Regions from separate parts of the Homo sapiens genome. Here all the other regions are linked to region 4. The links are contacts of gene promoters, found by promoter capture Hi-C in blood cells and fetal thymus (Javierre and others, 2016). All regions are on one chromosome and are shown on one strand. The core of a region is centred on a gene start or on the middle of the fragment in contact, and the rest is flanking DNA. Distances in the headings are between cores, read along the strand shown.

Region 1 (2,885 bases), core at 47-2,546, 200 kb before region 4:
TTTTTTTGTTTTTGTTTTTTTTTTTTTGAGACGGAGTCTCGCTCTGTCTCCCAGACTGGAGTGCAGTGGCACAATCTCAGCTCACTGCAACCTCTGCCTCCCGGGTCCAAGTGATTCTCCTGCCTCAGCCTCCCGAGTAGCAGAGATTACAGGCACGTGCCACCATGCCCAGCTAATTTTTGTATTTTTAGTAGAGACGAGGTTTCACAGTGTTGCCCAGGCTGGTCTTGAACTCCTGACCTCAGGCAATCTGCCCGCCTCGACCTCCCCAAATGCTGGGATTACAGGCGTGAGCCACCTCACCCGCCAAAGTCAGGGTTCTTAAAGCCATATTTATTTCTTGTCTATCATCTGATTATGAGAATATTGACCTCTTGCTCACCATCCAATCAACTTATGGAGAGAAGCTAATAAATCATCCCAGACTTAGGCCTTACTGAGGACAGATTAAGAAAGGTTGATTGATCTGTCACATCCAGACCCAGTGGCATGCTGGAGCCAGTTTTTATTGACTTTCCAGAACCGATTATTAAATAGGAACTGGCCGGGCACAATGGCTCACACCTGTAATCCCAGTCCTTTGGGAGGCTGAGGTGGGAGGATTGCTTGAGGCCAGCTGCGTGCCACTGCACTCCAGCCTGGGTGACACAGCGAGACTCAATCTCTAAAAAAAAAAAAAAAACCCCAAAAAGCAAAAAACAGGAACTTGTGAGCTAGTTGCTTGGAAACTTGAAATCAACCATGATGAGACTGTTTACACCACAGGAATTGGCAGAAGCTCTAAACCAGGGCTTTTTTCTGAGAGAACTGATTCCCAGCACACCCCTGCTGCCCAGCACTCCTCTAAAGGGCGGGAATGTCACAGAAGCTTCTTCAGCCCCCTTTCAGAGTTGCCGTGTGTATTTCCTAAGAAGGGTACAACTTCACACTGGTTGCTGAACTTGTTCAAGATATTACATCTCTGCCAAGGGCCGTGTCATTCATCCTGGCCCTTGTCTGCTGTACTCGTGTCCCCCAAGTTGGCAGATGGGTCTGTTCTCCTTAGTAGGTGGTCTGCAAGGGGTAGAGTTGATGGTATCTTTGTAACAGGGAAATCTCGTTTCCCACTCTGATTCTGTGCAATGGAATCAAAACCACTATTAGTTACCCTGACCTCCTGAATCCTGCTGGGGTCTCAGGCTTCCCCTTGGAAGGGGAAGGAGTGATTGTGGCTTCAGGCCAATGACTCCTGAGAAAGTGATTGCAGGCCTGACTGTCAGTGCAGGGGGCTTGCAGCCAGCATTCCCAGAACCTCAGTCTCTTCTCTGCCATTGTTCACTGTTACTTGGCAGTCTTCCAAGTGACGACTGAAAACACTGAAAAAAAAAAACCTTATAAATAAATGCCAATTAAAAACTAAATAGAGCCAGGCATGGTGGCGAGTGCCTGTAGTCCCAGCTACTTGGGAGGCTGAAGCAGGAGGATCCTTGAGCCCGGGAGTTCTGGGCTGTAGTGTGCTATGCTGATTGGGTGTCTACACTAAGTTAGTCATCAGTATGGTACCTTCTGGGAGCAGGGGACCACCAGTCGCCTAAGGAGAGGTAAACCTGCCCTGGTCAGAAGCGGAGCAGGTCAAAACTCCCACGCTGCTCAGTAGTGGGATTGCACCTGTGAATAGCCATTGCCCTCCAGCCTGGGCAACGTAGTGAGATCCTACCTTTAAAAACAAACTAAATAGAAGCTTTCATTCTGAGGTCAAGCTGGCATTCTTAACTCGCTGCTTTATCCAGGTCATGATTCCTCTCTTTCTTCTGGAACAAATACATTCCTCCTTCCATGGGGCAGTGTGAAAGGCAGATTTTCCACGTGGGCCTCCTGGCTTCTTTAGAGTAGGACTTCTCCATCTTTATCTGCATCCGAGACCCCCATCAGACGCTTGCTGGGCGTGTGTGTCTTGTGGTCGTCAGCACCTGACGTCCACTCAGCACTGTCTCCAGCTGCAGTGCTTGTGGACATCTGTACTTAACTTGTCTAAGAACCCGGCTTGGTTTCCCCACCTTGGGAAAACCCTGTGGTCGGAGGCTCCAGCTATTCTTTCCCAGGTAAGAAAAACCATTCCATGTTCATCAGATGGCAGGGATGTGGGTGCATTCTCCTGAAGTGGGGGCCGAGGAAGCGGCACTCATGCTGATTCACACTCATTCACAGCCCAGACCGGTGGCTTGTCTTAACTCTGTACCTCTCATAACTGTCCTGCACCCCTAAGTTGGCTGCCCCAGGGTGGTGGCAGCCTTGCTAGGAAACTTTCTTTTGGACCTTTGATGTCATTTCCCCACACCATTGTCCCTATTTTTGTGGACGCCCCGGCTTTTTAATGATTTTGTTTTGGTCGGTTGGAATACTGGACTGGTTTGTGAGTCCTACGCAGGAATGCCAGTGTGTCTGCCAAATTCAATGAGGGTGTTGTGCTGTTTTTTTAATATCACAGTGAAACATTCATGTTTTCACTGAGGGTGTGTCTTTATTAACTAAAACAGAGTCCTTATTTAAACCAACTGTATTGTTCCCATGTATATGACAAACCCACCCTTTTCAGACTACTTCCCATTACAAAAATGTGCTCTTCAAAAGTAAATATTTTTTCTTCTCGTTTAAATGAACCTGTTTGTTTCTAGAAATACACACTTTAAAAAAAAAATGCAAAGCATTGTGTATGCTCTAGTAATTCTAACTGCATAAGTACTCATTTCCTCATAGGACAGAAACAACCAGCATGTTTCTTGGTATGAAAACTCCATTTTCCCAAATGCCCACCTAGGTACATACTCACCGAGAAAAGGATGATTGAGGAAGGTCACACCTCTGAAATGAGGCCTGTGCTGCTGTTGTTGAGTGGCTCTTTACAG
Region 2 (2,812 bases), core at 304-2,803, 220 kb before region 4:
GTAATTTCTTCTTGGGACCCGTGGGACACAGAACCCCCCTTGTTTCTGTGTCCCGCCACAGCTCAGCTTGTCTGACTCCTGTTACCTCTTTGTGATCCCTGGCTTCTGAGGTTAGCTTGCTGTAGCTCCGTGACTTAAAAGGCAGCAAGCCCATTTCTCATTAGAATTCCTTTATTGGCATCTTTACGTCCACCAGACTTGAGAAGGCTCACAAAATTTACACAGTACAATGCCACAAGTAAAAATCAGGTTGCTCTTGCCATCTGAACTCTCATCATTTGAATTAGATCCATAGATTTTTTTTTTTTAAATATATAAGAGACAGGATCTTGCTCTGCTGCCCTGGCTGGAGTGCAGTGGTGCAATCACGGCTCATTGCTATCTCAACCTCCTGGGCTCAAGTGATCCTTCCACCTCAGCCTCCCTAGTAGCTGGAATAGGTGGATGCCACCACACCTAGCTAATTTTATTTATTTATTTATTTTGTAGAGATGGGGTCTTGCTGTGTTATGCTGGCTGGTCTTGAACTCCTGGGCTTGAGGGATCCTCCTGCCTTGGCCTCCCAAAGTGCTGAGATTACAGGCATGAGCACTGTGCCTGGCCTAGCTCCATGGATTTTGATAAATTGTTTGATCAAGTCCTTGCTGTACTTCATCACACATACTTGCTACGTGAAACCCCTGAACTAAGCTGATCTGGGTCACATGGTATCCCTTGTTTCCCAAGCTTGCTTTCTGATTTCCCTGAGTTGGTATCAGGAGCCTGTTAGATTTGGACATCACAGGAGACTCGTTCATGAAGAGTAAACGAGTTTAACCATTGTTTCCCAGTCTTGACCATGAGTCCCTTCTCCTCAATCCTATGGACATCTTCGGGTTGTCAACACTGTGAGAACTCTTTGAGAAATCCCCCCCCCCTTTTTTTTTCCCCGAGACGGAGTCTTGCTCTGTCGCCCAGGCTGGAGTGCAGTGGCACAATCTCAGCTCCCTGCAACTTCTGCCTCCCAGGTTCAAGCAATTCTCCTGCCTCAGCCTCCTGAGTAGCTGGGATCACAGGTGCCTACCACCACACCTGGCTAATTTTTCGTGTTTTTAGTAGAGAGGGGGTTTCACCATGTTGGCCAATCTGGTCTCAAACTCCTGGCCTCAGGTGATCCACCCACCTCAGCCTCCCAAAGTGCTGGGATTATAGGTGTGAGCCACTGCACCCAGCCTAAGAAATCCTTTCATAACTGAGAGGAATGACTTTGAGTGGCAGTTTCAGGCATCATGGCGTTCATTGAAGGTGAGGAGTGGAGTGGCTTTTCTGTACAGTTGCTGCGTGGAGAAGGAACAATCGATCCCTCCAGCCACATTTGCCTGTCCTTTTTCTCTCCACTCCCTCATCATCTAGATAATTCAATCAGGTGTTTATTCTCATTGCTATTATGAGATTGTTTAAAAGGAGTGATTTGTGTAAATATTTAAAAAAAAAGGGAAGAGGAAAAGCACGTCTAGAGTTCAGGACACAGATGCCGTGAACTGTGGCGTGGTGGGTGTATTGAAGGCCCGCGGTAATGCAGGTGGAGTAGGCCACGGAAGGGGCCTGCCCCTGAGTGCCTGAGGGGCCTCAATGCCTCTGAACCAGGAGGTGACCGGGCCCTGGTTGACCCATGATGGCGTTTGCCTCTCTCAAGTTAACTGTGAGCTGGTGGCGAGAGGGGTCGCACGTGCAGCGGGTGACCCAGCCCCAGGGCTGTGAACTTTGAGCTGCACTGGGCTCGTGGCTCCATCTGCCCTGGTGGGGTTGGGGCTGCATGAATGTTGGTGGGGCCTCGTGGGTGGTGGCCCTCTTGGATGGTGGTGTCTCATTTGTTACCTGTCAGTGACGTGTGTGTACTCACACCTTGGGGGTATCTTTGTTGTCTCAGGAGTGGGGCAGGGACATAGAAGGGTGGTCTTCAGAGTCCTGGGACAGGACACTTTGGCTGCCTGTAGGGCAGCCTTTGCGGGCTGAGGAGTGGGAGGACCAGGGAGGCTGGCATGTGGCCGGGCCGGTTCTCCAGGGACGGTCCTTCCAAGTGGGTGCTCGGGAGGGTCTTTCCTGGCATGCTTGAACCCATCCCCTGAAGATCACAGCCTCCCTCACACCCTGGGTGGCAGGGTGGATGGACAAGGAGAGCGGGTGATGGGGTGGAGAGAGGTGCAGACTGGCATCTGGGTGAGCTTCACAGAGCCAGCCTCAACCTGTCTCAGCCTCAGTTTTGCCAGTTACAGAACAAGGATCACATCTGCCCTCTTGGCTCATGGAAGTGAGGAGAGTTTGATGCCAAATGTGCATGGAAGTGCTTTAATCGCCCCATCATCAAAAAGCATGTGTCTGGGGGTCATAAAAAGCTTCCAGATTAACTGTTTTGCCAAAAACTGTTTCAGCCAACAGTGAACTGGGTGGTGCCCGTGGCAGACAAGATGCGATTTGATGAGATATTCCTGAAGACCGACCTGGACCTGGATGGCTACGTGAGTGGCCAGGAGGTGAAGGAGATCTTCATGCACTCGGGCCTCACCCAGAACCTTCTAGCACACATATGGTAAGGCCGGACAGGTGGCAGTTGTGGCTGTGGGTGGCTCCAGGGGGCCTGTGGGTGAAGACTGTGGAGGGTGGTGGTCAGGGGGCCCCCTCCAGCCTGTCACAGGCTTCCGCTGTGTCTGGCGTCCTTTATTCTCCCTGGCCTGACAGAGGCTGAGCAAGGTGCACGTGCCAAGGCTCGAAGCCCGCGCTCCGTGACGGTCAGTTCACTGTCTTTCAGTAGGAAGGGCCTCTGGTCCGTCTT
Region 3 (2,792 bases), core at 70-2,569, 170 kb before region 4:
CTCCCACTTCTCTGAAATGCCAGGCCAACATCGAAACCAGGGCTCAGTGACCTCTCCCCATCATGTGCCCATGTGGGTCCCAAAACCTTTTGTTGATTGCACAAGATCCACTTTAAAAATGGCATCTCCATTTGAACCCTGCGGTTAGCACCTCAGCCTTGAACTTAACTACTTCAATTTCGTTCCCACGATGATCTCAGAGAGATAATCCGGTGGGTACATGTGAAATTCTACAATGGGACAAGTGGTTCCACCATCTCAAGGGGCCTGGAAAATTCTGGCACTTGCCTGCCAGCCAGGATGGGGAGGGGGTCCCAAGGAGCCTAAAACGGCCAACCAGGTGGAGTCCCTCTTTCCTGCCCACGCCCCCCATCCCCCAGCACTGCTGTGTTCAAGGAAGCTTCAGAGCTTCCGTCTGAGCCCTCTGGAAGGTCTGTCTTAGGGCTGGGTGGGACCTGCTGACGGTGCCAAGGAACGGTCCCACTCTGAGAGGGAGGAATGTCAGCCTTGTATGTTTAAACTGACTGCAGGCAGATTGCCGTTTGGAGCACTTTCTGTTCTGTAAAGACCACTGAGTTTGAAAATAGAAGCATTTGCCTTCCTGGGCACACTGTACCCAGAGGCGGATCCAGGGAGTGTCGTGTGACTCGATTATCATCTGGTGTTCAGTGGGGTGCAAATGCTGAGGCCTGGGGGGCTGCAGGGTGGGGTGCAGGCCTAGAGTGGCTGGGCTCCCACCCCAGCATCTGAGTATAGGTGTGAACAGACGGGAGCCATCGCCCTGGGGACATCGGGTGTACCTGCCTCCAGGACACCTCAACCCCTTGCTTGGCACCTGAGGGAGGTGAGGGCTGGGGCAGACGCCTCAGAAGGGGGCTCTGGGTGCAGCTCTGGGCACCGCCTCCCTGCTTTTCTGGCGGGGTGAACATGGCCCCTCATCTTTCATCTCTCCTATTCAAAGCCCTGAGTCAGCGCGCCCCTTGCCTGCCACTGCTAACTGCAAAATATCACATGCACTCGGGCAATGGGGAATCTGGCCATAAAGAGAGCAAAAGTGTCCCCCACCATGGGAGCTCCTGGTGGGCTCTGCGCCTCACTTGCTCCCCTCCCAGGGGCTCTTTTGGGTCCTTTCATGCACGACCCCTAACCAGCTTTCAGACTCGCTGCACGGCGTTCTCAGGGATCTTGTTACATGTGGGCAAGGCGCCTTCCTACCCTTTGCAGAGGTGGCGTCTGCGACATTGGCACACTCCGTAGGGAGGAACAAAGCTGGGCCCCCTTGCCCTGTCAGGGCTCCCCGTGCCTGGCTCATGCATAGATAGCATCTCTCCCTGGAAATCCCCCCAGAGGATGGGGCTGACACCCAGGGGTGTTCACGCAGGGTATGTCAAAGGTGCCCGCCAGAGAACAAATGCGAATTTTCAAAGAAGCCAGAATTGTGACACCTGCCAGTCTGTATTATTTTTGTCATGAAGACTGGCTTGTGATTTGTAAATTCATTTCCAAATCACATACCCCACCCTACACACACACACACACACACACACACACACACTTTTTTTTCTTCCAGGGCTGGTGCAGCCCTTGCCTGGCAGGTTTTATGTAAATGTCATGGGAGCCTTTTGTGGTGACCTCTAGAAAATTGTTATTTCTCACTTCAAATGATATTTGCCTTTTGAGGACCCCAAGGCACAGCACCTTTTCCCCACTTTCTTCTTTTAATGGCAAGATGAGGCCACAGCCATTGGGTTCAACAGCCCCCTGCCCACCTCACACACCTCACAGGGCAGGAAAACACAGCGGCCAGCAGTGGCTCGTAGTAAATATTTGTTCAGCTTTTCTCAACAGTTCAGAACCAAACCTCATCCTGTTCCCTTCAATGCATGAAGCAGATTTTCTCAAAATTCGGTAAATATTTTTAGTGGAAAATCTCAACGCTGCGATCGCAGGGACCTCAGATTCTTATCTCCCGGGGCTGTGCTGCTTGACACAGCTTTGATCTAAGGCAGAGTGCGCGCGGGGCTGGTGCCTGCAGGACTCCCAGCCTGCAGGTCCCTTACGTGGTCCCGTGTGTCACATTGTAAAAAACAAACTCCCCTCATGTGTCTTAGATGGGAGCCAGAGGAAGACGTTGACGTGTGTTGGGGAAAAGCACTCTTTCAAGACAAGTCCCCGAGCAGTGATGAATTTTAGAACCTATACTGTTTTCTTTCTCCCCTCTCCCCGCAGCTAAGCTTTTTTTCTGGCAGGATGGGGAGGGTGGAATAAGACATGTCAGTGGCCTTGGATGAGCTCTGCTGGAGTGGTGCCCCGCCCGGGCCACTGCTCTCCTAGGCAGCGTGACTCTCAGAAACCTGGCAGTTGTATGGGCATCTGTGTTGTGTAGGATGAATGACAGTTGTGGTTGTGTGGGATCACCTGTTGTGTAGGGTGAATGACAGTTGCATAGGTGTCTGTGTTGTGTAGGGTGAATGATGGTTTTGTGGGATCACCTGTTGTGTAGGGTGAATGACAGTTAGGTGGGTGTCTGTGTTATGTAGGGTGAATGATGGTTTTGTGAGATCGCCTGTTGTGTAGGGTGAATGACAGGTGGGTGCCTGTGTTGTGTAGGGTGAATGATGGTTGTGTGGGCACCACCTGTTGTGTGGAATGAATAACAGTTGTGTGGGTGTGCATGTTGTGCAGGATGAACGAGAGATGTGTGGGATCACCTGTTGTGTAGGGTGAATGACAGTTGTGTGGGTGTCTGTGTTCTGCAGGATGAATGACAATTGTGTGGGCATCCTCTGTTG
Region 4 (3,114 bases), core at 8-2,507:
TGGAGATGGGTATCCATCTCCCCTACCAGCCTGTGAACACCGTAAGAACACAGATTGTTGAGCCCTGGCACATGACTCACACCTGTAATCCCAGCACTTTGGGAGGCTAAGACAGGTGGATCACTCGAGGTCAAGAGTTCGAGACCAGCCTGGTCAACATGGTGAAACCCTGCCTCTACTAAAAATACAAAATTTAGCTCGGCGTAGTGGCAGGTGCCTGTAATCCCAGCTACTTGGGAGGCTGAGGCAGGAAAATTGCTTGAACCCGGGAGGCGGAGGTTGCAGTGAGTGGAGATTGCACCACTACACTCCAGACTGGACGACTGAGCATGACACTATCTCAAAAACAAAACAAAAAAAAAGGGACTGTTTTTTGCTAAACACAAATCGACCCCAGGCTTAGTACCCTGCCCGGCATTAGTAGGTGCTCCCCAGATATCAGCTGAATAAACGAATGATTCTGGATCGGACTCCTAGACTTGCTACTTCTCTGTGACCATTGTGACCTTGGTCAGGTTGCTTCACCTCTCCATGCCTCAGTTTCTCCCTCTATAAAACGGCACTCGTGATCACCACTCACCTCACCTAATCCTTGTAACTCACTATCACAATGAACGTGGAGAAATTCCTACTGAGAGAAAGTGCACGATAAACAGAAGCTGTAACGCCCTGAGAAGGCGGGACTGGCTCGAGAGCACCCAGTCCCCGCCACGCCTCGCCACCCCCGGCCAAGGGTCGCGCAGCCCCTGGACGCCCTGCCTGGCTCCGAGGCCGGCTGCGGCCCCGCTTCTGGGTCCTCCACCGAGGCCCGAGCCCCCGGCCCCGGCGCCGGGGAGCAGAGGGCGGTGCAGTCAGTTACCTGGCAACGCGGTGGCTGCAGCCCACCGCGTTACGTAGCAACAGGGCGGGGATTACCCACTTAAGACCCCCGCCCGGTTACCCAGAAACAGGATGGGGCTCTCAGGTGAGGTCTACCGGCCTCTCTGCCTCACACCAGGATGGGGCTCATAAGCCGGTTACCTAGCAACAGGGTGGGTCCCCGCGGGCGGAGGCCCCTGCCGGTTGCCTGGCAACAGGGAGGGTGGGGAGCCCTCAGTACCTTGCCCTTCAGGTCCAGCACGTAGACGGCGCTGGCGGACATGATGGCTGCAGGAGGCCTCGGCAGCGGCCGAGGGCGGTGGCGGCGGCAGCGACGGTGGGGACTGCTGGGCGTTGAGCAAGGCCGGGCGCCGCCCGCGACAGCTCACCTCCACTTCCGGTTCGGGGAGCCGCGCGGGGACCGTTATGTCCGGTCCGGGAGGTGCTGTCAGGAATGCGCAGGCGCAGGACGGACTGTGCGCAGGCGCATTACGTCGTATGTAACCATGTTTCTTGCTCCCGCCAGAAGCATCCCGGAAGTAAGGCCCGGTGGGGCGGGGCCGACCAAATCAGGGCACCCAGTGGCCGCTGCCAGGCTGAGCTATGGAGCCAGAGCAGCTGGAAACGGCCTCCCGTGGGCCGAGTTAGGCGAGAGAGCCTGGTGGTGAAACCGACCTGGGGCCCAGCCCTATGGAGCTCACAGTCTGGTGGGGAAGTCTATGAAACAAGTGTACAGTCACCAATTGTGATAAGCTCAAAAGAGAGAGGTAAGGTCGTGGTTACTTGGAAAGAGGTCAAACAAACTTTCTGAATGGCAATCAAACCTTATCAACAGTCACCACCTGTCATTGTCAACATTTATCAATGAATGAGTGTGCCTGTTTATTGCCTGGAATGTTATGAAAACCAGCCTCACTGAACCTTGACCCAACATACCGTGTTTCATTTCTGCAAAGTTAGTAATCAGTAATGCAACTGGTGGCCCTTGATTAATCCATTGAGTCATATTTAATTTGCTTTTATGAACTCTTGGGCTTTGGAGAAATGCCTGCATTCTGTTCCAGTTAGCCATCATAGTACCCTGGGGATCCCAACCCTGCAATACCAGAGTGATTTACCCAGGATGCCTGCCTCTCACATCTTTTATTTTCTGTCTTATCTCCGTTTTGGCGTTTGGAAAGATGATTTTTGCAACTCGGTAATTATATAGTGTTTTGCTTAGGAAAGAAATGTGACCGAAACTCTAGAGAAGCAAACTAGAATGTTTGAAGACTGCTAAGTGACTCCTGGGCTGGAAGGATTCTTGCTCAAGGCACAGAGCAAGCAGCCAAGAGAGGGTTTTTGTTGTTTGCTTTTTTTTTTTTTTTTTTTTTTGAGATGGAGTCTCACTCTGTCACCCAGGCTGGAGTGCAATGGCATGATCTCGGCTCACTGCAACCTCTGCCTCCTGGGTTCAAGTGATTCTCTTGTGTGTCAGCCTCTCAAGTGGCTGGGATTACAGGCATGTGCCACCACACCTAGCTAATTTTTGTATTTTTAGTAGAGACGTGGTTTCACCATGTTGGCCAGGCTTGTCTCAAACTCCTGACCTCACGTGATCCACCCACCTCGGCCTCCCAAAGTGCTGGGATTACAAGGGTTAAGTTAAATATTAAAAGATAAGAGAGCCAGTGCCCTTATACAAAGGCTGGGATGTAACAAAAGCCCACCCAGAGTTGTGCCTAGGCCTTTCCTGGGCCTTGAAGCATGACAAGATAATGAAGGAATTCTTAACAGGACCCTTTTAGGATTAAACAAGCTTTATTGGCGGTCTGAAGAAACTCCTCAGGCCTCCACAAACAAGTTTATTGGGGTTTGAAGGAACTCCCCCAAACCTCCATGATTTAGCAGGAGATAAGATAAGGGTAATCACCCCAGCACCTGGACCCACTTAGATTAAGTAAATTTACTGAGGCTCCAGAGGAAGGTCTTCAGGACTCAGATCTTAGTTATGGGTTAAAAGACTATAACTTACTTACGTCTTTAGATGAATGCACACCTACACGTAGACATATAGCTTAGAAGGTATATGAGCTCTGGAAGACTTTGTAATTTTGGGTTGGTCTGGTGATATTTTCCAGGCCTTCTCCCTGTAACCAGTTACAGAAATAAAAACTCTCTTCCTCCCTAGTTCATCTGTGTCTCATTATTGGGCTGTGAGATATAGAAGCCCAACCCTCAGTTTGGTCTGGGAATAGGTTAGGAGTGGGGGTCTCA

The links. The method cuts DNA at HindIII sites, captures the fragments that hold promoters and counts their contacts. A CHiCAGO score of 5 or more calls a contact.
Region 1: a fragment that was not itself captured here is called in contact with the fragment with the promoter of AP1M1 in region 4 in 13 of 17 cell types (naive CD4 T cells, non-activated CD4 T cells, naive CD8 T cells and 10 more); the score reaches 12.4 in naive CD4 T cells.
Region 2: a fragment that was not itself captured here is called in contact with the fragment with the promoter of AP1M1 in region 4 in 7 of 17 cell types (naive B cells, total B cells, non-activated CD4 T cells and 4 more); the score reaches 9.3 in naive B cells.
Region 3: a fragment that was not itself captured here is called in contact with the fragment with the promoter of AP1M1 in region 4 in 3 of 17 cell types (naive CD8 T cells, megakaryocytes and total CD8 T cells); the score reaches 5.4 in naive CD8 T cells.

What each region holds. Positions count from the first base shown.
Region 1 is chr19:16,397,479-16,400,363 of GRCh38, reverse strand. All of the region lies in intron 16 of EPS15L1 (epidermal growth factor receptor pathway substrate 15 like 1), which reads left to right. Among named protein-coding and RNA genes, the nearest start is that of EPS15L1, 73 kb to the left of the region's middle. The HindIII fragment of the contact is 852 bases long and covers 871-1,722 here.
Region 2 is chr19:16,421,076-16,423,887 of GRCh38, reverse strand. It overlaps EPS15L1 (epidermal growth factor receptor pathway substrate 15 like 1), which reads left to right. Exons shown (of 24, transcript NM_001258374.3): 10 at 2,412-2,569. Among named protein-coding and RNA genes, the nearest start is that of EPS15L1, 49 kb to the left of the region's middle. RefSeq lists an enhancer at 2,375-2,812. The HindIII fragment of the contact is 1,649 bases long and covers 729-2,377 here.
Region 3 is chr19:16,368,440-16,371,231 of GRCh38, reverse strand. All of the region lies in intron 22 of EPS15L1 (epidermal growth factor receptor pathway substrate 15 like 1), which reads left to right. Among named protein-coding and RNA genes, the nearest start is that of KLF2, 45 kb to the right of the region's middle. The HindIII fragment of the contact is 1,834 bases long and covers 403-2,236 here.
Region 4 is chr19:16,196,054-16,199,167 of GRCh38, reverse strand. It overlaps AP1M1 (adaptor related protein complex 1 subunit mu 1), which reads right to left and starts at 1,257. Exons shown (of 12, transcript NM_032493.4): 1 at 1,100-1,257. The coding sequence starts at 1,141. RefSeq lists a silencer at 874-1,113. The HindIII fragment of the contact is 4,202 bases long and covers 1-2,658 here.